Linked DNA regions of Homo sapiens: regions 1, 2, 4, 5 and 6 are each linked to region 3. Evidence: promoter capture Hi-C in 16 types of primary human blood cells and fetal thymus (Javierre and others, 2016). All regions are on one chromosome and are shown on one strand. The core of a region is centred on a gene start or on the middle of the fragment in contact, and the rest is flanking DNA. Distances in the headings are between cores, read along the strand shown.

What was found. The method cuts DNA at HindIII sites, captures the fragments that hold promoters and counts their contacts. A CHiCAGO score of 5 or more calls a contact.
Region 1: a contact is called between a fragment that was not itself captured here and the fragment with the promoter of SMIM15 in region 3, in 1 of 17 cell types (monocytes). The highest score is 5.2, in monocytes.
Region 2: a fragment that was not itself captured here is called in contact with the fragment with the promoter of SMIM15 in region 3 in 1 of 17 cell types (activated CD4 T cells); the score reaches 5.3 in activated CD4 T cells.
Region 4: a contact is called between a fragment that was not itself captured here and the fragment with the promoter of SMIM15 in region 3, in 2 of 17 cell types (total CD4 T cells and total CD8 T cells). The highest score is 5.8, in total CD4 T cells.
Region 5: a fragment that was not itself captured here is called in contact with the fragment with the promoter of SMIM15 in region 3 in 1 of 17 cell types (monocytes); the score reaches 6.7 in monocytes.
Region 6: a fragment that was not itself captured here is called in contact with the fragment with the promoter of SMIM15 in region 3 in 2 of 17 cell types (total B cells and total CD8 T cells); the score reaches 5.6 in total B cells.

The regions. Positions count from the first base shown.
Region 1 is chr5:61,418,911-61,423,351 of GRCh38, forward strand. The region is part of intron 1 of ZSWIM6 (zinc finger SWIM-type containing 6); the gene reads left to right. Among named protein-coding and RNA genes, the nearest start is that of ZSWIM6, 89 kb to the left of the region's middle. The HindIII fragment of the contact is 6,718 bases long and covers 1-4,441 here.
Region 2 is chr5:61,578,625-61,583,451 of GRCh38, forward strand. No RefSeq gene overlaps it. Among named protein-coding and RNA genes, the nearest start is that of LINC03122, 57 kb to the right of the region's middle. The HindIII fragment of the contact is 656 bases long and covers 2,572-3,227 here.
Region 3 is chr5:61,161,169-61,165,829 of GRCh38, forward strand. SMIM15 (small integral membrane protein 15) reads right to left here and starts at 1,300. Exons shown (of 3, transcript NM_001048249.4): 1 at 1,049-1,300; 2 at 1-59. SMIM15-AS1 (SMIM15 antisense RNA 1) reads left to right here and starts at 1,148. Exons shown (of 4, transcript NR_109908.1): 1 at 1,148-1,358. RefSeq lists enhancers at 467-1,363, 849-928, 999-1,258, 1,789-1,888, 1,929-1,988 and a silencer at 1,439-1,548. The HindIII fragment of the contact is 8,836 bases long and covers 1-4,661 here.
Region 4 is chr5:61,500,956-61,505,172 of GRCh38, forward strand. All of the region lies in intron 4 of ZSWIM6 (zinc finger SWIM-type containing 6), which reads left to right. Among named protein-coding and RNA genes, the nearest start is that of LINC03122, 130 kb to the right of the region's middle. The HindIII fragment of the contact is 174 bases long and covers 1,195-1,368 here.
Region 5 is chr5:61,448,204-61,453,141 of GRCh38, forward strand. The region is part of intron 1 of ZSWIM6 (zinc finger SWIM-type containing 6); the gene reads left to right. Among named protein-coding and RNA genes, the nearest start is that of ZSWIM6, 120 kb to the left of the region's middle. The HindIII fragment of the contact is 1,043 bases long and covers 1,531-2,573 here.
Region 6 is chr5:61,630,496-61,634,979 of GRCh38, forward strand. No RefSeq gene overlaps it. Among named protein-coding and RNA genes, the nearest start is that of LINC03122, 5.0 kb to the right of the region's middle. The HindIII fragment of the contact is 1,149 bases long and covers 1,761-2,909 here.

The DNA of each region.
Region 1 (4,441 bases), core at 1,076-3,575, 260 kb after region 3:
TCCCAGGTTCAAGCGATTCTCCTGCCTCAGCCTCCTGAGTAGCTGGGACTACAGGTGTGCGCCGCCATGCCTGGCTAATTTTTGTGTTTTTAGTAGAGACAGAATTTCACCATGTTTGCCAGGCTGGTCTTGAACTCCTGACTTCAGGTGATCCCCCTGCCTTGGCCTTCCAAAGTTTTGGGATTACAGGCATGAGCCACCACGCCCGGCCTCCTCTTTATAACTTAGTTGGGTTAGTTTCCATGTATAGTAATGAATTTTCTCTCAGGAAAGCCATTGTGGCCTATAGATTAAAGTTATTTGCCCTTTGTATTTGATACTATCAACATGCCTTGGTGTCTTTAGTCACTCTTTGGATTTGGCTCACCAGAGAGGTTTAGAAAGATTGAAAGATAATTCTACCATTATCTCACTGGTTATATTACTGTTGATGGTATCACATCCATTACAGTTCTCATGAACCACTGAGTAAATCAGTGCTGTGCTCTGGGCTCACTATTAAGTTGATTTTCATTTGTACTCAAGGCTATACCATTTGGATGTTAATATTAAGCTCTGCTTCCAGTCTTCAAGGTCTAGAACTGAGCTGCCCAGTAAGGCAGCCACTAGCCACATGTGGCTATTTAGATTTACATTAATTATAATTAAATAACATGGAACATTCATTTTCTCAGTGATGCATTTCAAGTGCTCAATAGTTACATGTGGCTAGTGGCTAATATATTGAACAGCTCAGGTATAGAACATTTCCATCATTGTAGAAAATTCTATTAGACAGCACTGGTCTAGAATATCATGCCTTGTCCACACAATGCAAGCCTCTCCTGAAAGGCTTTTTTCTTCTGAGGGATGTGCCCTTCAGGACAATGGTAGTTTGTGGCCCTTGCCTTCTGGTTGTATGAATTACAGAACAGGATATACAATAGGTTGATCTGGGCTGGAGTTAGGTGTGCAATTGTGTTAGAAGTAGTTGTGGTTTCATCAATAGAAATATCTTAGAAATTGCAATCAGAAGGTCTGGGTTGAGATCCAACTTTGCCCTTTACTAGAAACATGGATTTGGGTTAACCATTTGACATCTTTGAACTTCAGTTTTTTAACCTGTAACACGAAGATCATATCTCACAGGATTGTTGTGTCATATACATTAGAAAGTACTTTATAAACTGTAAAATCTATTCAGATATTTTTATGGTTATTTTAGGAACACCAAACATTTTAATTTGCAAGAGTAATCTTTAAATTCTTTCATCTTTGCCTGGAGGGCATCACATTGAATTAATTGATAAAGAATGAAAAAATGACTGTACAAAGAACCTAACACATGCTCTAGAGACCAGCACATTGTCTAATGACAGAATAGGATTAAGTGATGGAGCATGTGAAAGACCTACAAAATGATACTAATGTCCAGCTTTTTACTATATATCTGAAAGTTTTAACAATATTGTAGACATTTCACTTGCTCCTAGACCAGTAGATGACTCATTTAACATCAGATAGGAAGAAAGATCACTTATAATAAGGTTTTAAAATGTTCTCCATACAGAAGTTTCTAGTATTTTTTTTACCAGAACACAATTTTTTTTTTTTGATATCACAGTGAATTGGGGCATGGTGTTAAGCATTATCCATGTTTTATACTGACTAAGTAGCAGTAGAACAGAGGCTGCCGGGGAGTGGTGGTAGAGAGTGTGTAGGGAGGTGCACGTTAGAACAATTTGATTTGATAATTGATTATAATGATGATTAATTTTTAATTTTTAATTTTTGTGGGTACATAGTGAGTATGTATATTTATGGACTATATGGGATATTTTGATACAGGCATGGAACATGTAATAATCACATCAGGGTAAATGGCATATCAATCACCTCAAGCATTTATCCTTTGTGCTACAGGCAATCCTGTTATACTCTTTTAGTTATTTTAAAATGTAAAATTAAATTATTTTTGACTATAGTCACCCTGCTGTGCTAACAAATACTAGGTCTTATTCGTTCTATTTTTTTTTTTTCCTTCTTTTGAGATGGAGTCTTGCTCTGTCACCCAGGCTGGAGTGCAGTGGTGGGGTCTTGGATCACTGCAACCTCTGCCTCCCAGGTTCAAGCAGTGCTCATGTCTCAGTCTCCGAGGTGGCTGGAATTACCGGCGCACCCTGCTCAGCTAATTTATTTATTTATTTTTTATTAGAGATGGGGTTTTGCCACGATGCCCAGGCTGGTCTCAAACTCCTGGCCTCAAGTGTTCTGCTGGCCTTGGCCTCCCAAAGTGCTGGGATTACAAGCTAGAGCCACTGTGCCTGGCCTCATTCTGTCTTTGTTTTTGTTTTTGTACCCATTAACCATCCCCACTTTTCTTCCTAGCCTCTGGTAATCATCTTTCTACTCTCTTAATGAGTTCAGTTGTTTTAATTTTTAGGTCCCACAAATAAGTGAGAACATGCAAAGTTTGTCTTTCTATGCCTGGCTTATTTCACTTAACATAATGACCTCCAGTTCCCTTCATGTTGTTGCACATGATAGGATCTCATTTTTTCATGGCTGTATAGTATTCCATTGTGCATATGTATCACATGAAAAAAAATTTTAGGTTCAGGGGTACATGTGAAGATTTGTTACATAGGTAAACTCATGTCATGGGGGTTTGTTGTACAGATTATTTCATCACCCAGGTATTAAACCCAGTACCCAACAGTTATCTTTTCTGCTCCTCTTTCTCCTCCTACACTCAAGTAGGCCCCATTGTCTGTTGTTCCCTTCTTTGTGTCCATGAGTTCTCATCATTTAGCTTCCACTTATAAGTGAGAACATGTTTTATTTGGTTTTCTGTTACTGCATTAGTTTGCTAAGAATAGTGGCCTGTAAGTCCATCCATGTTCCTGTAAAAGACATGAAGTTGTTCTCTTTTATGGCTGCATAGTATTCCATGGTGTATATGTACCACATTTTCTTTAGCCAGTATGTCATCAATGTTGCCCATTTTTTAATCGATTAGATTTTTTCCTCTAGGGTTGTTTGAGCACAGCCTTGTATATTCTGGTTATTAATCCCTTGTCAGGTGGGTAGTTTGCAAATATTTTCTCCCATTCTGCGAGTTGTCTCTTCAGTTTGTTGATCGTTTCCTTTGCTGTGCAGCAGCTTTTAAATAATAAATTGATGTGATCCCATTTGTCCATTTTTGCTTTGGTTGCCTGTGCTTGTGGGATATTACTCAATAAATCTTTGCCCAGCCCAGTGTCCTGGAGAGTTTCCCCAAAGTTTTCCTTTAGAAGTTTAATAGTTCGAGGTCTTAGATTTAAGTGTTTAATCCATTTTGATCTGATTTTTGTATATGGTGAGAGACAGGGGTCTAGTTTCATTCTTTTGCATATGGATATCTAATTTTCCCAGCACCATTTATTGAAGAGACTGTCCTTTTCCCAAAGGATTTTCTTGGCACTTTTGTCAAAAATGAATTCACTGTAGATATATGGATTCATCTCTGGGTTCTCTGTTCTATTCCACTTACTAAGTGTCTATTTTTATGCTGGCACTGTACTGTTTTGGTTACTATAGCTCTGTAGTATAATTTGAAGTCAAGTAATGTTATTCCTCCAGTTTTGTTCTTTTTGCTTAGATAGCTTTGACTATTTTGGGTCTTTTGTGGTTCCATACAAAGTTTAGGATTTTTTTTTCTGTTCCTGTGAAGAACGTCATTGGCATCTTGATTGGTATTGCATTAAGTCTGTAGATTACTTTGGGTAGTGTGGACATTTTAACAATATTGATTCTTCTAATCCATGAACATGGAGTATATTTCCATTTTTGTGTGTGTCTTCTTTTATTTTTTACATTAGTGTTTTATAATTTTCATTCTAGAGATCTTTCACTTCCTTGGTTAATTCCTAGGTATTTTATTTGTAGCTATTGTAAATAAGATTACTTTCTTGATTTTTCAGATTGTTTGCTGTTGGCATATAAAAATGCTACTGATTTTTGTATGTTGATTTTGTATCATGCAACTATACTAAATATGTTTATCAGAACAAATAGTTTTTTAATGGAGTTTTTAGATTTTTCCAAATATAAGGTAATTTGGAAACAAGGATAATTTGACTTCTTCCTTTCCACTTTGGATGCCGTTTCTCTTCTTTTCTTTTCTTTCTTTTTCTTTCTCTTGTCTGATTACTTTAACTAGAACTTCCAGTATTATGTTGAATAATAGTGGTGAGGGCCAGGCGCAGTGGCTCACGCCTGTAATCCCAGCACTTTGGGAGGCCAAGGCAGGTGGATCACCTGAGGTCAGGAGTTTGAGACCAGCCTGGCCAACATAGTGAAACCCCGTCTCTACTAAAAATACAAAAAATTAGCAGGACATGGTGGCGGATGCCTGTAATCCCAGCTACTCGGTAGGCTGAGGCAGGAGAATCGCTTGAACCTGGGAGGTGGAGGTTGCAGT
Region 2 (4,827 bases), core at 1,650-4,149, 420 kb after region 3:
AAGGGGTTCTAATTTGGGTGAGCTGAAGCTCCCGCCATTCTAGGCCATGCTGAAAGCCAGGGAGGTTAGAGATACCCAGTGGTGTGCTGGAACTAGGTCTCACTGGCTCATGAAAGTCAATTGCAAACATCTCTTCCTAATTTCTCATTCAGTGAGGTTACAATGGTAGTTTGAAATGGCCATGGTGGGAGTATTTACACCACAGAAACTGGCATTAATTCAGGCCATTCTCGCCCTGGGAGGCCAGAACGCTGCTGGAGACATTAATTCAGATTGGTCATATTTGTTTTGTGGAGATCTTCATTAATCTTGGTGAGTTTCTTGCCATTTGTCACCCATGTCTTTAGCTTGCTGTCTTCTATCCCCAGGTACCATCTCACTTGCTCATTCTTCCTTTTCTTTTATCTCCTTCTCAGTTCATCAGTTCAGGTTTAACCAAATAGACCAAACCCAATGCCATCCTTTCACTTTACTCACTTTACAAATGTTACTCACTGTGTCATCCTGCATCTGCTACTAGTTTTCTTTTGTATACTATTAATAACAATTGTTCCTACAATTTTCTTGATTCAGCCTAAAATAGCTTAATCCAGCTTTCACCAAACAGCTTTACTCTTGGGCTTTCTGAGTAAAATGTTGGTCTGGCTCTTTGGTTTACAAGTCATGATAGTCACTGTTGCATTTTGAAACAGCAGATGATCTTTGGGGTTGGAAAAAGTGACTAATCTGGAAGACCTTTTTGAATATTTTTAGGGCAGAATGTTAGGTGTAGGGTATTAAAGTAAGGGAAACATTGAAGTTAACTTTGAAATGTTAAACAGAAAGGGTGAGCTGATGTTAAGTCAGTAATTGAATTAGGAAAATAAGAGGGGCTTGTTTAAGGGGGCATGGCTTGATTTTAGATATGCTTTGTTTAAGATAAGGTAGTGTGGCATAGAGAAAAAAATATGACTTGAACTCAGAACACCTGGGATGGAACCTAAACTATAAAAGACATGTTTTGGCTGGGCGTGGTGGCTCACTCCTGTAATCCCAGCACTTTGGGAGGCTGAGGCTGGCAGATCACTTGAGGTTAGGAATTCGAGACCAGCCTTGCCAACATGGTGAAACCCCGTCTCTACTAAAAATACAAAAATTAGCCGGGCATGGTGGTGGGCACTTGTAATCCCAGTTGGGGGGGCTGAGGCAGGAAAATTGGTTGAATCTGGGAGGTGGAGGTTGCAGTGAGCTGAGATGGTGCCACTGCACTTCAGCCTGGGTGATAGAGTGAGACTCCGTCTCAAAAAAAAAAAAAAAAAAAAGACATGTTTTGAGGATGTGTGCCCAATCCATGCATCTTTCCCTGAGAATTGCCTCTCCTGCATCCATGTTTGGTACTTTCTAATCCACCTCTACCAGCTCCTGGCTATAGTTGATGGGGTCAGGAGTTGTTACCTGATAGGAGCTGGTGAATCCAAATCTCTCTCATGAGAATTTGGAATTAGTAGACATGACTATGATCAGTCTTTGTGTATATTGGACTTGTAAGGGTGCTGTAGTCTGGGGGGACAAGGAAGCCATTTTTGAGCCTCCATGATGATATGATGGAGCATGATGAGCAAGGCGAGAGGGCCGGTCTGCAGCTGCAGAGAGAGGCAGGAGGGTGGAACAGGTGGTTAGTTAGTGAGGAGCAGGGATGACGCACAATCTGATGAGGGAAGGAGAAAGAAAGTAGCTGCCTTGATCTGCTGGTTCGCCAGACCTAGTTCCAGCTTCTCATGGCTCTTACTCTTGAGTTCTAGGAGACATCCTGCTTACCTTATAATAAGGTCTGCTTCTACTTGTTAACCTGAGGAATTTCTGCTTCATGGAGCTAACACAGTCCTAAGACCCTGGCTCTGCTGCTTGCTGTTTCAAGCCTTAACTAAGTCACAGAGCTCACTTTGCAGATGGGTTTTAGTTTCTTCATCTGTAAAATGAGGGTAATAATGTTTATCTTTTTGGGTTGTATGAAGATTATGTAAGATACTCTATGATAAGCACTTAGAAAAGTGCCTGGTATTTAATAATCACTGAGTGAATGTGAGGTAATATTATTTTGTGAAAACATCTATTAGGGTGCCTGGCATTTGACAGGAAACTGACAGTTACTAGGTGACAAATATAAGCTCTCTTGAGTCTTCATACCCTTACTCTTCTCTCGGCCTAGAATGCCCTTTGCCATTGCATCCGCCGGGCCACCTGCCACTTGGCCCTTCCTTTGAGGTCTCCTTGGTGGGTACTCCTCTATGGTGGCAATTGTTATCCTTCATTATTGTTGTTTACTTATGTCTCCTCTCTAAACTTTGATTCATTAAAGGAAGTCAAGTTTTTCTTGGTACTCAATTTTTAGTAACATCATGCATGACAAGGTCACTATAAATGTTTGATAAATTAAAGGGTGGATGAAGACATACAGTCTAGACTTTGGGGTCAAAGACATCACATGGGGACCATCTACTCTAAAAGGATACTTGAAGTTAGAGGTGTGAATGAGATCACCAGAGGACTGTAGCATGAGCAGAGAAGAGGATGAAGGCAGAATGTGACAAAAGCTTATTGAATGGGAAGGAGTGGGCTCAGAGGAGGCAGCAAACCTAAAAAAAAGTAGGGTAAGGATGGGGTACGTGAAGGAGTAAGAGAATGCAGAGAAGTAGAAACTAAGAAAGAAGAAACACGGCAAATTTAAGAAGTGGTGAGAAGTGTTAAAACATCATATAATCTGAGAATAAGATGTTTTAGACAGATATTGCACCTTGGAGGCCATTAATGAGGTATTTAAAAGCAGATTCAAAAGATTGGCTAAAGAGAAAGCCAGATTCTAATGTATTTGTGTTGATGGTAAGTATACACTGTTCCTAAGCTGGGTACAGTGGCTCATACCTGTAATCCCAGCAACTTGGGAGGCTGAAGCAGGAGGATCACTTGAAGCCAAGAGTTCAAGACCAGCCTGGGCAACATGGTGAGACCCCTGTCTCAAAAAAAGTATACACGGCTACTTTGGTAATTCAATAAAAAATGAAGAGGGAGAAAGCATGTTGAAAATATGTGTTAGGATAAAGAACATTGGAGAAAGTATTATGCTCGCCCTACCTTCAAGTGAGTAGGCTCTCTAAACTGTCCTTTTGCTATGTAAAGTAATGCTATACTTATATTTTCTCCATTTGCCATTTTAATGAAGTTTCTCCTGAGCTACTCTTCAGTAAACAAGCTTTTATTTACTATTTTCTCTACTCTTTATGATCTTAGATACTGGTAGTCTTATTTCTGCTAATTTTTCTTATTTTATTTTATTTTATTTTATTATTATTATACTTTAAGTTTTAGGGTAACCCCATCCATCCATCCACCCACCCACCTACCACATATCCATCCATCCACATGTTCATTCTTCCATAAAATAAATATTAATAAGGCCACTATTAAGATCTAGGCACTACCTTAGGAAATTTAGAGAACCAAGACTGCCCTCAAGGAGTTTCTAGTCTAGTTGAGAAGATTAGAACACACTGGCTGCCTTCTCTGGAGTATTCTAGTTTCATTCTTTTGGAAGTTGGAGCCACCTCTTGATACCCCAGATACTGTGGTGGTGTGCTTGACCCCAGGGATTCATAATGGTTGACCAGCCTAGAGCTCATCCAGCAAGTCAGAAACCAGGCTCCATGGAAGCAGTTTGTCCAATAGCAAGCCAGAGACAAAGGCAATAGGCTGTATGGTTTGGGAGCCTCTCTGTGAAAGAGCTGTGTGCATTATTCATGGCTTGTCATTTGCAGTCAAAGAGACAGACTGCCCTCTGACATCTCTGAAGAAGTTCATGATTTATTGGAGGCATCAGAAGAAATATAAAACTAAATAGTAATATAATCCCCTGGGGGAAGTCTTACTTTGGTATTTTACATAATATTAGAAACTCAGCAAATAGTTTCCCTGAGATAAAAACTTTGGCAAACATTCGACTGAAATGTTTGAGAAGTGAAACCATTCAAGTTTTTGTGTCAGGAGACTTGAGTCTCATCCAGCCTTCTAAATATCAAAATTTGAAAAATCCCTGAATACAAAGGAATAGGAAGTCTGTAATTCAAACAACACAATATCAGCAGCTCTATCCCCGGTTCTGGAAATTGTGGGGGATTTTGAAGTCTTCCTCTTTGTGCCTTTCCCCACACCACCAAAACAAGTAATAACACTTTAATTGTGATTCTTTGTTATCAGAAGTGAAGAAATATGCTGGATCTTAGGTGTCTCTGTGTGATCATACCTGTACAATTTAGGAAGAAGATTGTGCTTTTGTTTTGCTTTTACAATTAACAGAAGATCCAACTATAAGGTATTTAAATGATGAGTTGGACTTTATTTTCCTCAAATAACAAGAAGTGTGGAGGTGGACAGCCCAAGACTGATCCCGCTGCTCTGAGATGCTATCAGTTGCTTTGGATCATCCTGTTCCATCATTCTTAGCATGCAGCTTCAAGCTTCCTGTTTGCAAGACTGCTCCAGACAGGAAGAAGGGGGAATGCCAGTCTTTTCCTTGAGACCCTTTGTCTTTTTACTTGGAAAGGGAAGTGTTTCCCTGTGACGTCCACTGACCAGAACATGGCCATTGCTGGCTGGAACGTGGCTAGGAAAACTGAGTACTGATGTTCCTTGAATTAGGATGGGATCACACCCCCAGTAAACCCATCGTGTGTTGGAAATACCATGAGTTGACAATGCATTTAATAGACTTAAACTACCAAACATCATAGCTTAGCCTAGCCTCTCTTAAACATGTTCAGAATACCTACATCATCCTACAATTGGGCAATATCA
Region 3 (4,661 bases), core at 50-2,549:
CTGTCTTCTTGAGTTCTACTGTACACATCTGAGAGACGGTTTAAATTCTGTACAATTGGCTAGTTGGAAAGAATACAAAAAATAAAACAAAATTTAAGTCACAATTTCAGGATAATTGTAATAAAATTTTAAATGGAAAATTTCTATATTGTATATATGCAACCTATATGACATCTAAAATTGCCTATCCGGTATAGTAACTTAATACGTTTCTTCCTCATTTGAATTTACAATTGCAAATGCCCTGTAAGAAAATCCTAATTACTGGAAATCAAGTATTTTACTAAGTTACTTATTTCAATAATAAAATTTTTTTAGTTCATTGACATACGGGAGACAAGTTGGCTCACTGACTGACTTACACAGCGTATCCGTTCCTAGATTTTCAATTTTTATACTAAAAATGTTGCCACTCATTTATTTACTGGATTAGGTACACCACTACAAAATCAAACAGCTCATCTTACTCTTTATAAAGGTTTTTTTGGGTCCATCATACAATTTGTGTCCTTTACTTAAAAAATTAGAAGACATAACCAAACAAATTATAGTAATTCACCCACAGTCCCATTACCCCAAGAAAACTGTGACTAGTTTTAATTATATCTTCCCCACGATTTTCAACTGAACACACATGAAAGTGCCTAATACGTTAAATATCTTAGCTCCTGGACTTCATACGACCTCACCCATACAGTTAGAATTAGGTACTACTGAGATCGATCTGCCTTCACCTTCTCCAGCCCAGTAGCGAATAAACAATGTAAGTTTCAGAAATAAGCAAAAGAACTTTGCAGTAAAAGAGCCATGGTCCACAGGCCACACATCTCCCTGCAACTCAACTTCGGACCCAAACGCTCGCGCCTCCACACTTTCAGGAATAAATCCTACTCTTCCGCCCAAAACGGATCGACCAGGCTCGATCTCCCAACCAGACCCGCGTGGCCCCTGCGGCTGCAACGGGTAGCACTTGACGGCCGTCCGCACTTCCTCCTTTGTCTTTCCCTTATTCCTTACGTTTCTCCCTTGCTCACTCTTCCCTCCTTACCCTATCGGGGCTGCAGACCCACGGAGGCCACGTTCACTCCTGCCCGTCGGCCTTGGCAAGCGCGGGCCCCTTGTCGCGCAGAGCGGAGGGTCCTGGGAGATCCTGGGTTGGCCCAGCCACACCTTGCGCCGCCGCCGTTTCTGCTGGACACCAGGAGAAAACCACGGCAGCTGCAGCCACCAACTTCCCCTACATAGCCCCACGGGATCGGATCCCACTCCCCACTCACCGCCAGACCGGAAGCAGGAAGGCGGAAGTCGCGGCCTTTGCGTCCCGCCCACAGGCGACCCGAGCCGCCAGCCGGGCGTGAGTAAGTCTAGGGCCCAGTTTCCGGCTGCGCCATTGCTGTGTGGGTCTTGGGACCTCGAGTTGGAGGACGCGGGAGGGTGGGGGCGGGGGCAGGGCAGCGCTGAGATTTCCGGGGAGCGGCAGGTGAGGCCGCGCGGGGCGGGTGACGGCACCCGGGCGGGCTCCTTTCCAGGCTGGAGCCCGAGACTGCCACGTCCTGCGGGGACCAAGTGGTGGGCGAGGAGGCGTGGAGCGGCTTCAGGACTCGAGGAGCGGTTCCGAAGCAGCTAGGGACTTTTGCCTTTGCCCCCCGAGGTCGATCGGAAGACAACCCCCATCCCCTGCTGTAGCGGGACAGTTGGAGGGTCATGGGTGGGTGAAGTGTTTGGCTGAGGGAAACTCAGACCAAAGAGCAGCGGCAAGAAAGCAGTTGGGTCCCCACAAAACGCCCGAAGTCAAGGTGAGGGTCACACAACGACTCTTGACGATTCCGGCGAGTTCATCCTGGTGCACATCCCACTCCATGCCTCTCTCTTCTGGTTGGACAATAGTTACATCCTTACGAAAAGGAGGCAAGCTACTGGGCCTTGGTGGATCCACTCAACCTTGTTACCAAGGGACATGCCGCCATGCTATGTGAAAAGGGGGGTTTTGTTGTTTGTTTTTAATTTAAGTATCTAATTCGTTTCACGAAAGAATGATCAATACCGGCCCAGAGTAAACTTGATAAGTAATTAAACTGTCAGGGCATAGAGTTCCCATAGAGGTGCTTGTTCTTTCAATACACAAATAAAGGGATGCAAAAGTCAACATGCAGAAAGGGTGAGTTAATATTGTCTTCTAATCTACAGGAACTGAAAGATTAGCTAATCTGGTTTGGTTGGTGACCAAATTTTGTGATTGCTTGCACTGTTTGACTACCTCTGACAAATGTTGCAAGACCTCTTCACTGATTCTCCAAAGACTATAGAATGTTCTCTTTCAGGAGCAAGCTGCGACATGTTTAACTAGTTTAGGTAAAACAACAATAACTGTTATTTACCAGGGAACAGGCTTTTGGCAGATAATCTAACGATCTACGATACTGTTCGTTGGGCATATGTTAATGTTTGTAATGTTGTATTACCAGCAGTTGTTTTCTTACTCCTTTTTATTTGAAAACCTGGATGATAGTTTCAAAGCCTATGCTGCTTAGGCCTAGCCTGTACCTTAGTAGCCAGAAAAAGTAGACTCAGTCACTGGATTGTGTGCACTGAATACTTACTTGAGATAACTGATTTTTCTAAAACTTCCCCAAGTCTTGAATCCAAGATGTGGGCAGAATGTATTATTTTAACATCCTTCGTTCCAGAGGCCAATGCGTGTTTTATTTTAATCATGATAGGTGGTTTTCCCAGTTACTGCCTCCGGATACTTGCAGTGCTGCATCCCTAGTTAAAAGCCCAGAAGTCTTGGGCAGGAAGGAAGGGCATATAAAGAGAAAGCCTTTGTAGTTCTTTAGCTGTAATCTAGACCAGGGGTCCCCAACGACGGACTGGTACCTGGTTTGCAGCCTGTTAGGAACGGGGCCGCACAGCAGGAGGTGAGCGATGGGTGAGTGAGCATTTCCGTCTAAGTTCCGCCTCCTGTCAGATCAGCAGCATCATTAGATTCTCATGGTGCGAACCGTAATGTGAACTGCATGTGCGAGGGATCTAGGTTGTGCGCTCCTTATGATAATCTAATGCCTGATGATCTGAGGTGGAACAGCTTCATCCTGAAAGCATCCCCCATCCCCGTCCATGGAAAAATTGTTTTCCACGAAACCAGTCCTGGATGCCATTAAGGTTGGAGACTGCTGATCTAGACCATGCCTTTACAATCTAAGTTTGCTCATCTAGCTTCAAGTTACAGGACAGTCTGCAAGACCAGGAACAGCATAGGGGTTGCCACAGTGGAGCTCCTTACTGCAGTCTGCATTGCCTTAACTAAAGGTGGTGTCAGGATTGATTCAAATACTGTGAACTACTTTCCATAAAGAGAAGTCTGAGCTCGTGAACTGAGATTCACAGTTGTGGTACAGTAATGTTATGTATACTCTGATAAATCACTCTGAGTGTGTTTCCACTTAGATATGTGGAAAGCATACTAGGCAATCTCCAATGCCCTTTCAGCTTTAAAATCTGTAAATTGGACTGGATTTGGTCATTTTTCTTAAATAAATAGCATAGTAAGGTATTTGATAGAAACATTATTGCAAGTTTTCTTAAGGTCTTTTTTTTTTTTTTTTTTTTTAATTTTGAGACGGAGTCTCTGTCACCAGGGCTGGAGTGCAGTGCTGCGATCTTGGCTCACTGCACCCTCCACCTCCCAGGTTCAAGCGATTCTCCTGCCTCAGCCTTCTGAGTACTTGGGACTACAGGCGGGCATCACCACGCCCAGCTAATTTTTGTATTTTTAGTATAGATGGGGTTTCACCATTTGGCCAGGATGGTCTCGATTTCTTGACCTCGTGATCCACCCGCCTCGGCCTCCCAAAGTGCTGGGATTACAGGCGTGAGCCACCACCGCGCCTGGCCTTTTTTTTTTTTTTTTTTTTTAAACACGGTCTTGCTCTGGCCCAGCTGGAATGCAGTGGTGCGATCATAGCCCACTGCCTCTTCGAACTCCTGGGCTCAAGGGATCCTCACTCCTCACCTTCTGAATAGCTGGGACTACAGCCACAAGCCACCATGCCCAGCTTAGCATACTCATTATTTTTTAAACCTATGACCAGTGTTAATTTTCTGCTTAATGTATTCAGTTCTAAGTCAAGCCCAACTAGAGAGAATGAGTTTCAGTGATTTTTTTTTTTTTTTTTTTTGAGACAGGGTCTCACTAAGTCACCCACGCTGGGGTGCAGTGGGTCCATCACTGCTCACTGCAGCCTTGACTGCCTGGGCTCAAGCGATCCTCCCACCTCAGCCTCTAGAGTAGCTGGGACTACAGATGCATGCCACTATGCCCAACTAATTTTTAAAAATTTTTTTCTAGAGGCAGGGTTTCACTCTGTTGCCCAGGCTGGTCCCAAACTCCTTGCCTGAAGTGATCCTCCTGCCTTTGTCTTTCAAAGTGCTGGCACTACAGGTGTGAGCCACTGTTCCAGGACAAGATCTTATTTCTTTGTTTGAAAAGATCCTTAATCAGGTTTTTATTCTCTCAAATGTCTGTCAGAATACGAATTTAGAATAACAAGGAAATAAGGTCTGCTTTATTTACTTTTAAGAAATAAAATATTATTCATGTAAGTTTAGCCAAACTAACTAAACCTGATGCTGTTAATGAAATAGGGCCTGCCTTTGCATAA
Region 4 (4,217 bases), core at 32-2,531, 340 kb after region 3:
CTGACATAAGCTGTCCTGCTGGGATGGGGTTGTATACTCTGGTCTCAGTTTCTGCTTCTCTCTGCCTTGTTCAGAGTTTCCTGTAAATACAGAGGATTGGTCAATTGTATTGCTGAGAAGGCTTTACTTCCCTCCAGCACTGTTCTCAGAAGGCTCATCTGCTTCTAGGTCCTCATTACTGGGGCATGTTTTCTTTCCCTGTGCTGTCCTACTGCTTTCTGTCTCTTAAAACTCAGAACTCTGTATTCTTGGGTCATAGACCTCGGAGTTCTGCCCTGCTGTGGGGGTGGAAAAGAGGGGTTTATTTTCTGCTTCTTTAAGTAAACAGAGTAATCTCTAGTTTGGGTCAGAAGTAAACCAAAAGAGAGAATGTATGGGCAAACCTAGGATAAATACTTGCTGTGTACTGCTATCAACTATCCTCTTGACTGTGGCTGCTAGGGTTTAATTATCCATTCAGTTACCTGTATAGGGAAGAGTGGAAATAAAGAGAAAAACTTTAAAATACGAATTAAAAAAATAGATTTTCAGGATTAAAAGAGACTTTACAGGTCATTTGATCCTATTGTCTAACCAATTGGAAATTCTTAGTAGTATCCATTGTCTAAACTGTTTCTGTATAGAATTAGATAATTTGTAACAACACTGGAGATTCACCTCCTTGTGTGTTTTTATGAAACCATATGCTAAACATGGAGATTTGGTGAGGAATTAAGATGCTTTAAGGCTCATTGTAATACACTTGAGTGTTACTGTCTTATATATGTTGTGTGTTAGTAGCTTTATTTGTATCAAGAATCGATTCCAGTTACTTTCTTTTATGTCATCTTTCTACTTACAGCATTAGTCCATTGGTAGTAGATACTCTTCTCACATTAGTGGTTAATAGGAATGTCATAGCGTTGGTATAAGGTGTCCTCTTCTTTCTCATAATTCTTAGAAAGGTTCTCTCCCTACTTTTCCTGTTTCCTAAGAGATAGTACTGACCGCACTTGCCTTCAAGAAATGTCCACCAATGGGAATTCTGGCTAGGGAAGTCTCCTTACTAGGCTGTGGATCTAGAGAGTACTATCATGGTAGGGTGGAGGGGGAGAGCGAGAGTGAAAATGAAGCAAGACAAGCTGGGGAAGAAAATTTCCTTTCACCATTTCTTACCCTGAAGTGGCAGCATAGAAAAATTAATGAGGTCTGAGAAGCTTCGTTTTAAGCCATCTGGGATTCCCAGGGGCTTCACAGAGAATCAGGGATGCCAGGAGCAGGAAGGAAAGAAGTGGAAGCAAAGGGAAGGCTGAAGCAGCTCCTTAGGCAGCTCTGTGTATGTGCCAATATCAAGCAAGGTGCTTTATACATGCTATCATAGTTAATTTAAGCTTCGTTAGGCTCATGATGGGGAGGAAAACCCAAGGAAGTTAGAAATGGTTGTCCTTAGAGGGGGGTGTTCAGACACTGCCCTGCAGAGCCCCTAGGTTTGGGGTCAGGGGGAAGCGAGTGCTGAAGGGACGAGGCAGATCCTTCTCAATCAGAGCAGTGTGACTTTACCACATTACTACTAGGGTTTTCATCAAGATTGTTCTGGAGGAAAGGATTCCGATATTATAAATGCATGCTTGATAATCACTATCTTCAGTAGGCTTTTAATAGGTACTCTTGTTAGACATGTACTAAAACAGGGGTTCCCCCATCCCCGGACTGTGGACCAGTATCAGTCCGTGGCCTGTTAGGAACTGAGGCACATAGCAGGAGGTGAGTGGTAGGCAACTGAGCATTACTGCCTGAGTGCTACCTCCTGTCAGATCAGCAGTGGCATTAGATTCTCATAGGAGCACAAACCCTGTTGTGAGCTGCACACATGAGGGATCGAGGTTGCGTGCTCCTTATGAGAATCTAATGCCTAATGATCTGAGGTGGAATAGTTTCATCCCAAAACCATGCCCCGGCAACTGCCACCCCGCCCCCGCCACCAGTACTCATACGTGGAAAAATTTTCTTCCACAAAGCCAGTCCCTGGTGCCAAAAAGGTTGGGGACTGCTGTACTAAAGGATGACTTTTAAATTTATATAAATAGCTTTTTCCTATATACTTTAGGGGAAGGCAAGATGGCAGATGATTTGCAGCAAGTGAACTTTTGTGAGGCTGCTTGCAAGCTTGTCTGATAATTGTATAACACTGTTTTCATGTTTTATTTTAAAATTCCAAAATTAATATAAGAAAAAGACTCTGTATAGTAAAATGCTAGAGCCTTCTGATGTTAATTTGCTTCAGGGAGTTAATAACTGGTCTTAGGGCTATTTTCTTAGACTTTGATCTGGTTGACAGAATACCCAGGGTAATGATACTAGTTGTCTGAAAAATGTAGGTAACTCACTCAGTTCTCTGTGCTTTCTGCTGCAAAGATAACCTTTGAAATAGAAAGCCAAATCTCTGTGATTTTAAGCTATGACTAGCTAGATTAATAAATTTCAAAATTTGCTTCAGCAAACCTGGAGAAGAGAGTGAGAAACATTAATAAAGTAGGAATCAGAGAGAGACCTTGAAGTGGCTTAGATTGGAAGCCATAGTCTTCCTTTGTGTATGATCAAGGGTGGAATGAGTTGAATGGAAGAATCCCAAACAGGGCACTTGGGTCAAATATAAGCTTGGAATGGAGAGAAAATCCTGTTAGGAGGAATACTTCCAAAATGCTCCCAAGAGCACAAAGTCTGTTTCCCCCCGCCACTTTGAAGATGAGATTAATATATCCAGCAACCTGTTCACCAGAACAGATTGACCATGCACTAGAAGATATTCTTTGCTAAGCATTAGGGTCATATGTAGACCACATAATTTGAAAGATTTGCCTGTGTGTTTGGAAACCATTAACCACTCACTGTATTTAATAGTAGTATCGTCAGTTATTGTCTTTATTGGCAAATTTAAACTAATGTCATACCCATCCTTTCTTAATCTTCTTTTTATTCCTGTATTAATGTCTATTTGATAATCTTACCCCTTTTTTCCACTCCTTCCCAAAAATAGTGAAAGTAATTTTTATTTTTCCTATAAAGGTGAAAATATGTGCCTGATATTATAATTGAAGCTCAGTAAATATTTGTGAATTAAAAAGTGAATGAATAATTGAAGTGTAATGCTGACACTTACTTAGAAACATCAAGAAGCAGTTATTTTTGATGTACTGAAAACAATGATTGAAAGGTATTAATCTTTACTGAGTCCTCCATTTTCTTCTTCTGCTTTATCTAGCCTTCTCCACCCATGTGCACAATATTCATGGGTGCCTGTGTGTGCCTGGACACACACACATGCACTCTGAAATACAAACAGTTTAGAGTACAGAAGGGCAATGATTCTCCCTTGCCATCAATGCTGCAGGTAATCTATTGCATTAATCAGCCAGCCAGTGGGAAATGCATGGGGAGTGATTATACTATCATACACAATACAATCAGCATGAAGCACTTGTCAAGACCAATACATCAAAGTTTAATTCACTAATAGAATGAATTAGAGCAAAATGAAACATTCTGTTCTCTAGGAAACCCAACACCCATCATAAGTTCTTTCTGAACTCCACAGAAAAGTCAGTGCATTAAGAAATTGTTTTTTTGAATAAAATTACAGTTCCAATCTGATGAAATATTACAAGCCAGTTTTCTTAGAATTCTTACACAAGTATAGTGCTTAAGTGTCTACCGGACCATCAGCACTCTATACTAATCATCATTGGTAAATATGATTATATTTTAGTGGACTCTTGATTGTCTTTTGTCCTAAATTGGTTCTTCATGGCAAATGAATGGAGGGGCATTGTATCAGTGGCTCAGGGAAGCACTTATGCGTAAATATGGATGGTGGACAGTTGAATAGGAGACAAATTAACAAGAATCTGCTGTTTATAGTGCCCTCAATTGTAGGCTCTGCTACTGTGGAGCTTACAGTCTAGTCAGGAAACAGAATAAATAAATGGAAAATAAAAAGCAACCCTGGACAGCTTAAGACAACTATAGAAACAAGGTTAATATAACGTAGGACATGTTTCGGAAAATTTTGGCAATAGATGTAATATGTTTTATGTATTAGAATAAAATAAGTCACTATTACAAGTCACTATTATGTGTCAGTTGAGTCTTCTGGAAATAGAGTTATATAGACTTTGGAGTCAGGACTATTGGATGAGCCATGAAACTGTTTATGAACGGTTTTTTATGTTTCTTATGCT
Region 5 (4,938 bases), core at 802-3,301, 290 kb after region 3:
AGTGCATTAGCATCATAGCCTCTCTGAGTTTCCTATTTTCCAAAGGGGGAAAATAATACGTATTTTATTGAGTTGTAAAACTATCAATTGTGAAAAGCACTTAACATAGTACATGACTCTTGTCACTTTCTTCTTTATATATTTGGATTTGTGGGTCAAGTGAGATCATAAAAATCACTTTTCAGAATATCACGTTCTATACAATTGAACATAGGCCTATATTAAATTAGTTTCCTTCTCATTCATTATTTCATTTTCTTCCCTGTAACTGGTTTGTTGAATAACAATGCTACTTCATTAAAATGTTTTGCAAACTTAATTTTTCTTTTTATCAAATACTGTAGTTTTCTAGTAAATGAGATAATGTATATAAATATATACATGTTCTGTTTGGGGGAGGAGGGTAGATGATAATGGTGTTGCTGTGCATTCTGAAAGGATTTGCAACCTGAGAGAGACAGACTGGTTCTGATCTGATACACTTAGTGTCAGTACAATAAACACACTGAACCAAGAAATATATGGGGGTATGATAAGAATATGTATTTGCTATGCAGAAGACAAAAGCATGTTTTAGGAATGAAGAGAAAGGATAAGGCCATAGATGGGAGTGGAAGTTAAGACTAGCCTTGACTAGAAATACTGAAGTAGTCTGAAAAAAATCACAGTTGCAGTAGGAATAGAGAGTAATAGGTATATGTAGGATATTTTGACATTTTTAGTTGTAATGCTGCCTGCAAGGAGAACCTGCTGGCAAACCTCACAAAATTGTAGCACTGTTGCCCTGGTAGTCCTTGTAACCAAAGCATCTCCGTTCCCACTTTAAAGCCCTTTGGCCATCCTATACAATTCCTGTTGGGCATTTACACCTAAGAATGTTGACTCCTGGTAAGTGTTTTGTATAGTCCTGGGTTCATCCTAATGATAGAATAGAGCAGTAATTTAGAAAGTACCTACACCAGTAGGATGCCCACTATTTTATAATTACATTGGTTTCTCATACTATTTCTCTGAAGCTGGGAAAACCATTTATTTTTGTTTGAGTTCTAGGCCCAATTTTTTGCTTAAAGAGGTCACACATTGACTTTCATGTTTAATATTACTGAAAGGTATGTAATGAAGCATTCTTTATTAGGCTTATAAAACTTTTTTAGCAATTTGTTTTTTAAATTTATTTCCAGAGTTTTAATATTTTTAAATTTATTGTTTAGGGATGGGGTCTTACCATGTTGCCCAGGCTGTCCTTGAACTCCTTGGCTCAAGCAGTCTTCCTGCCTCAGCGTCCTGAGTAGCTGAGATTGCAGATGCACGCTATTGTACCCAGAAATACTTTTTTATTTAATTGTTAACAGCCTAGGTTTGAATAAGGCCATATGTACCACTTCACAATTCTCTGGTAAAATTATATCAGTCTGCACCTCAAAAGGTATTTGGTAGTTTGGTTCTACTGAGATTTTGTTGTCATAGTTCCAGAAGTCACATGCCCGGCAAAACTGGGGTTGACAGTATACTGTAAGACTGACTGTACAAAGCTTGATGGGGCACCCATTCCATCACTTTATGCTCTTTTCCCCTCTCCTTGTAAGGGTGGGTACTTTAGGACAGGAACAAGGAGAAGCAAATGGGAAGGCACTCTGAGTGAAACACCTGTTCCCAGTTGATCTCCAGGTGTGACCAGGCAGTAAGCTAATAAGGAAGGATGACTGAATGTATGAATAATCAGTCACCTCACTGCCAGCTTAACCAGAAAGACACAGAGATGGGTTGGGGCATTGAACAGTTTTGGACTGACCCTGCTGAATACAGTATTTCAGTGGAATGAAAGAATAGTTTCCTTTTTAGGAAAATTACGTGTTCCAAATTGATATATCCCTGTCACCACCTCTCAACCTCTTCTTAGAAATTCAATATAATAACAGTCCAGGAGCCTCTTGAGCCTTTCAACATCCTCAGCCCGCTTTTTCCATCCTGCCTTTCTTTCTGCCCTTCTTGGATAATCTTTCCCACTCATTTTTCCCCTCCAACAATCTGGCAGTAGTAGGAAAGGTAGGAAGAAGAATGGTGATTTGTTCAAATTCTTCTTTGCCCCACACATGAAATGGGTACTGCTGAAGGCAGTGAAAAATAGATGGCTGTGGGTGGTTTGTTAGTGACTCATCAGTCTTTCCATTCTGCTGGGAAAGGGAAGGGCTGGGACCAGATGGGAATGCATTCCAGAGACTCTTGCTTTAAATGATTTCTCATTTATGTGATTTATTTAAAAATAAATAATTGCTAGGCCAAGTAAGGGCCACAAAAAAGTATACACTTCATTGAATTGCCACATTGCCACATTTTTCCTAGAGTGGGTTAATAAAGCCTTCTGATAGGGTAGCCACTGGTGGGGATTTTTTTTAAATCATTTCCTGGTGGTGAATTTATGATTATACTTCACTGTACTATGAATGCTTGATCTACATAATCAAGATTAGTATTATTGTTACTAAATACAGGACTCCAAATTTGTGAGTAGTATACAAGACAAATACCACTCTTACCCTCATGAAATAATAAACAATGATTTATGAAGGTAAAGCTTGTGGCAGGGATAAGCCCGTGCTCAATGGAGAAATAAATAAGTGAGTATAGGGAAGAGGAACCCCAGGAACATTTGCCATGGTCATTTTGGGAATACTTGAGTAGTCAAGTGTATTTCTTAGAGCTATCTGTAATTTTTCTTTATTAAATTGAGGTTTGTTTATTTATTTAAGGATAATGTGGTTCCAAGAAGTCTGTTTCCAAGGTCTGTAGTTTGAAGCTCCTTTTACCTTAAAAGTATGTCCTGAACCCTGAAGACTGACCATCTGGCTAGTGTGGTTGTTGTCATTGTGATCAATAAAGACAGCTTTGATTTATGAGCAATTTATCCTGCTTACAACTGCACAGAAGAGGCAGTGGTTCATATTTTGGCTCCTGTTCAGCTGGGGGAACTTGAGCTCCCTTAGTTCTTTCAGAAAGCCTGGCTAGGAAGCTGGCATCATGGCAGGAATGTTTTAGTTAGCTTCAGGAAGTCAGGATACCAATGTCAGAGTAATTCAACTGACAGAATAACTACTTTTTATTTTTTTAATCCAAATTATGCTTTAAATTATGATCCTATTTAAGTATATTATTTAAAAGTTAAAAATGTTATTTAAACATTTCTAAATTTTGAGGGCTTTTTATGAATAACTTGGGGCTTTTGAAGACAGATGCATAAGATACTTCAAAATCAGAAGACATTTTTACTTGGAGTACTAAGTTAACATTGGTCCTGTAAGGGAGGCAAGAGTATTCATGATTATTTGAGGCAGCTCAAATGGGTTTCTCTTTTTTATCTTTCCCAGCATAGACAAACTTCTTGTTTTTGTGAAGGGAAAATACTTTACCCCAGAATGGCAATAAAGATAGAGGAAAGGTTCTTTCTTTTAAATGGAGAAGGCAGATTTCTCATTAGACTTCATTAATTAGTGAAGCTTGTTTTACCCTATAGATTCTGAATGGGTGTAATACTTTCTGCATTGGTTTTTAGAAATTGCTATTTTCTAGATTCATTCAAGAAAGATGAATGTAACCTTCTAAGTTTGGAATTTATAGAGATGGAAAAAATTTTAGCACCTAATAAATTGTTTATTTGTCAGGATGTGCTATAAGTTAAAAGGTGAACTTCTTCCTTTACCCTTTTAGTAGTTACAAATATATATGTAGTATATATTAAAGAATATGTAAGTATGTATGAGTTATAAAACAAAACAATACAAGGAACACTTAGTACCCGCTACTCAACCTTAACAATGTAAGGTTACTGGTACTCTTGGAGCCTTTTGTGTGCCTCTCTCAGATACCTTTACTTCATTTCCCATTTCCCACCCACTGCAGAAATTATCCTGAGCTTTGAGTCAATCATTTTCTTGCTGTTTTAAGGAAAATAATTTCCCACTGAGTGTCCTGTTCCTTTATATACTGTAACCTCCTACTTTTTTCTAGTTTTTCCCCTTAAAAATACTATATTCTGAGATTCATCAAAAGGTTGTGTTTATAGTTCATTCCTATTCATAGCTATATAGTATTCTATATGAATATATTACAGCTTATTGAATCTGCTGCTGGTGGATATTTGGGTTACCAGCTTTTTATTACAAAAATGTTATGAACATTATTTTGCATGTCTCTTGGTGCACGTGTGCAAGTATTTCCCTAGGGTCCTCCTGCCCGTTCTCATGGTATGAAAAAATTCTCTTAATCATTAAATAAAAATATTAGGAATATACTTTAAGTGACCCTGCAGATGTTTGTGGCTTAGATGTTTGTGACCTTTTTGCCACAACTAAGTAACCATATCAAGATTGTCTCTTTTTAAAACTTTGTATTTTGAAATAATTTCAGATTTATAGAAAAGTTGCAAAATAGCACAGAGAGTTCCCATATACTCTTTAACCAACCTCCCCTAATGTTAATATCTGCATTACCATTACCTTGGTACTTTCATCAAAACTAAGAAATAACCTTGGTACAATACCATTAAGTAAACTACAGACTTTATTCAGATTTCCCCAGCATTTCCACTAATATCCTTTTTCTCTTTGAGGATTTAGTCCAGGATACCATATTGTATTTACTCATCATGTTTCCTTAGTTTTCTCCAGTCTACAACAACTTATCTGTCTTTCCTTGTCTTTTATGACCTTGACACTTTTGAAGAGTACTGGTTAGATGCTTTGTAGAAGGACCCTCAATTTGAGTTGTCGATGCTTTTCTTATGATTAGATTGAGACTGTGTGATTTTTGCAGGAATACCACAGAAGTGATGGAGTGTACTTCTCATTGCATTGTATCAGGGAAGTACATGATAGCAACATGATATATTATTGGCTATGCTAACCTTAATCACTGGCTCATTTAAGATGATATCTGCCAAGT
Region 6 (4,484 bases), core at 1,085-3,584, 470 kb after region 3:
TGCTCACTGTAACTTCCGCCTCCTGGGTTCAAGCGATTCTCCTGCCTCAGCCTCCTGAGTAGCTGGGATTACAGGCATGAGCCACCATGCCCAGCTAATTTTTGTATTTTTTAGTAGAGATGGGGTTTCACCATGTTGGCCAGGCTGGTCTTGAACTCCTGGCCCCAAGTTATCCACTCACCTAGGCCTTCCAAAGTGCTGGGATTACAGGCATGAGACACTGTGCCCGGCTTGTTTCACTTAAAGTTTTAGTTCATATGGAATTAATTTTGGTATCTGACAGAAATAGGAATCTAAGTTTACTCCCTTCCCCACTCCCTTATCCTCATTGTTAGTCCTGAATCCATTTGACTCTACCATATGCTATGGCCAAGCCCCAAACAAACAGATCCAGATGGGAAGATTTAGTGTGGGAGACCCTGGCCCTAAGAAGCACTGAGGGAGTGGGATCAGGAAACCTTTATAAACAGGAACGGGACCTGTTTTATGGTCCCATATGTTGGAATCACATAAATCTGGATGAAGCCAGTCTCTGTCACTTTTACTCCCTGGAATGTGGGACAAACAAATAAGTTACTGAACTTATTTAAACCTCAGTTTTGCATCTGTGAAATGGGTACAATGATAACCCCTACCTCTCAAAATGGTGGTGAGGATAATGTGATAATACAAATGTGAAATGCTTCAGCACACAGCAAAGCATTCAATATTATTAGTAGTAGCGGGTAAAGAGAAATGGAGAATGATGGCAACAGCATGTAATATAGAGATATTAAAAGAAACACAGACATTATCAACAATTAGAGACACAAAGGTGATACTTCCCTGTGCTGTGGTTCTATTTTGAGTCCCAGAAAGTTTATCAGACCAATTAGGAGGGTTTCCTGTGAAAAGAAAGGCTTATAGTCCTAGAGCCTGGATCTACTGGAGCCTGCACTTAAATGCACACAATTCAAAGGAATCCAGTGGCATTTCTGTTCTCCAACCTGTTCCAAGGCTTTCTGATGAACCTGCCTGCGTCAAAGTGAATCAGCTGAGCAAGCTGGCATTTGGAGAGCTCACAGGACGGAGAGCACTCGGGGCTTGTGCTTTAAGTGGGCAGCCATCTCCCTCCTGGCTCGCCCCCAGCTGAGGATTGCTGCACAGAGAAATAGTCACTGGACGTGAGCCAGGGGCAGCAGTCAGCTTAACCAAAGGAATCAATGGACACTGTGTTTTCCCTCTGCAAATGAGGAAAATGACATGGTAAGAAGGCATATGCCTTGTCCAGAATCACAAATCCCAGGGGCAGAAAAGGCAAAGAGAAACGCTGCCTCAGAAGGAGCCATTTCCCATCCCGAGGAAGCCCAGAGCTGGGACTTGGTTAACAAAGGAAACAGAAACGGGAACGCTGCCCTCGAGCTCCCGGGGAGTGGAGGCCCAGCATATTTTTATGAAGCATGGACAATGAGTAGCCATTCAAAAGGCCGATGCTGCCTCTTCTTAGGAAAGGGCAAATATTTTAGGAATCCCTTCAAGCAAATGCCGGATTGCTTTTTAGGGGAGTGGGACTTGGCTGGGTAGTTAGTACCAAGGGCTTTAAGCTTTGATTCTGAGTTTTGCTCCTATAGAACAGTGGTTCTTAATTCTGGCTACACATTGGAATTAGATGAGCTCTTAATCCAGGAGGTTGGATTAAATTAGCCTGTAGTAGGGCCTTGACGTCAGTATTGTGAAAAGCTCCTTAGTGAATCCTAATATGCAGATTAGGGTTGAGAAGAAGCTTCCTGTTGCATTGCTCTTCCCAGCTGCATCTCACTTCCCAGCTGATGAGAACTAGGTTACAGGGCCAAACCATGCTAGCAAAATGTTTCTCACACTTCAAGGAATTGTCTGGGGACCTTGTTAAAGTGCAAGTTCTGATTCCGTAGGTCTGGGGCAGGGCCTGAGATTCTATATCTTTTACAACCTTCCAGGTGTTGCTGATGTTGCTGGTGTCAGGACCACACTTTGAGTAGGAAGAGTCTAGAAGTGGTCCTCATAATTCAGTGAGCATAAAATTTTCCAGTGAGTTCCAGGGGCAGGCTCCAGGAATCTGTATTTTTAACAAGTCCTCCGGTGAATTGATGTATTTGGTAGTTCAAGGCCACACTTGGAGAATGGGGTCAGCCTACCTACGGTTTTCTCAGGCATTTGTCATTTTAGCATATCCTGGGCAAATACTTGGCTGGAAGACCACATAGTCAATTGGCCTGGAGTTGAAATAAGAAGAAAGCCCGTGATGCCTGGCTCCCAGGCCTGAATCCCAGCCTGCTGACTCTGGTATCCCTTAACGTTCAGGCCAAATCCCATTACCACAGGAGACCTACAAGTCTTTGCATTTTCTTGGGATAAAGGAACCATCTGTTTAGGTTTGGGTTTTGACTATGAAGTCATTTACCCTGTTCCCTCTTGGAACTGTGACTAATGTATCAAGAGTCAGAGCAGAGATCCTGGGAGAATGAAATGCAAAGTACTTTCAAGAGCCCTCCACCTAAGGAAAACCCTCATGCAAGAAGGTGAAAGATGCTGTAAAAAAAAGTCACTGCTATATGTGATTTTAAGGACATCAAATAAGAAGCCTCCACCAAATTAATGTGGCTTTTCTATTTCAATAACATGGCCTGTGAGGTAGGATAAAGCCAGGACCTGAAATGACAGCCTGAAAGAGAATGGACAAATCAGGCACATACTCTCATTTGGTTACTGTTAAACCACTGTTTTTCAAGTACAAGTTATTCAACTTATAGATGATTCTGGCCTTTGGTTCTTCTCTCTTTTCTCTCTTTGGTTTGGCCATTTCACTGTTTATTAGCAGCTCCACCGAGGGTGGGAAATAGAAATGGACCTCAAATGAGGCAGGGTAACATCTGTGAGTAGGTCTGCTTAGAAGCTTGATGAGGGGGAACAGAGATTTTAATTGTAATTGCAGAAATTATAGAATTCGCTTCACTGTGCTGTCTAGGCCCACTTTTATATGGCAAATCCCAGCCTTATAACAAGAACAGACCACTCTCCCTACCCATAGTTCAACAATTGGCAGCAATGATTCAGTGGAAAAATTGGAACTTTAAAAATGCTTTATTCTTTCACTCAAGTATACTTATTGCTTTATATGCTTCTTATTCGCATGGTCATCTGGTAAACCTGGTTGTGAAATGGGGACAGAAATTTATCACTGCATGTACGTAGGAACATGGGCAGGTGTGACTTTCATGTTTAAGGAAGTTTTTGTGGTCTACTCTTCTAGTTAGTTATAATATATTATATAACAAAACATATCTCCTGTTCCTGTCACTTGGTATAATAAATATGTTGGTGAAATTTCTTGCAGAGTTTGATTACTCAGTCAAAACCTAAGTATCCTGTTGGGAGAAGAACACTCATTTTAGTGGCACTGTTCTATTCTTTGGATGAATTGAATAGTTACTAATCCAGCCACAGAAGAAAGACACAGGTAATTGCAATTGAGCAAACATACAGAACCCCACAAAAAAAAAGACTCACGAGAAGTGTAAAATTTCCCATCAAACATCCATCCATCTCTATTTTCTCCATTCCTTAGAATAGTCATTGTAGCCATAGGAAATAACTCGGGACCAGGTCTACACTAGGAGGAAAAATGTCATTCCTCATTCAAGCACTCTGGAAATGAGTTTAAAAAGACACAGTCTGCCCATGGTCAATGTGAGGTCAAAAACTCTAGTAGCCAATTTGAATTTTCTTTTAAGAAAATGTAACACACCACCTACTACCCCGCTTTTTACTGTGTAACACCACTAGAGTTCTTTAGGTTGTCCGAGGGTAGACAGGGATGTTGATTGGTCAATGTTTTAAATGTAACTTGTTTAAATTAACAGCAACTATTTTCTCTCATTTATCTATATCACCAATACCATGAGGCCTCACCCGGGGCCACTGTTGGAAATCAGGTGTTACAATGCAACTGGTGGTTATGGTTTTCATGTGGTCAGGATCCCTTAGACTGGTCGCTGCATGAAGCTCCATGCCTCTTGCTCACTGCTGTTTCTTGGGTGAATAGCACAGTGCTTGGTTATATGTAGGCATGTGAATTGGTGGTCTGGGTTTAAACCATGTTAGGCAACAAATGCTTTTCAATATATGAAATTTTTAGAGCTGGAAATACCTTTGAGAGAATAGAGGTCACTATACATTTTCTGTCTAGCAGCAATTCTCCCAATTTTCCTTCCACACAGAATTGTGATTTTGTTCTGTTTTCTTCCGCTTTTGTACTCCCAGGAGAGGCTGAAACATCACCTCTTGAGGGTCTCCTTTCTGGTGATTTATTCAGATATTGGCACATGTGACTCAATAATGGCCAATACTATGTGAAGGGACATCTTCTGGGGAGTCTTCCTCCTTTTCTTCCGGATTCTTTGTGTCTGAATGTGATGCCTGGAGATGCAACAGCAGTCTCACTACCAGCACGAGGATGAAGCTGATAC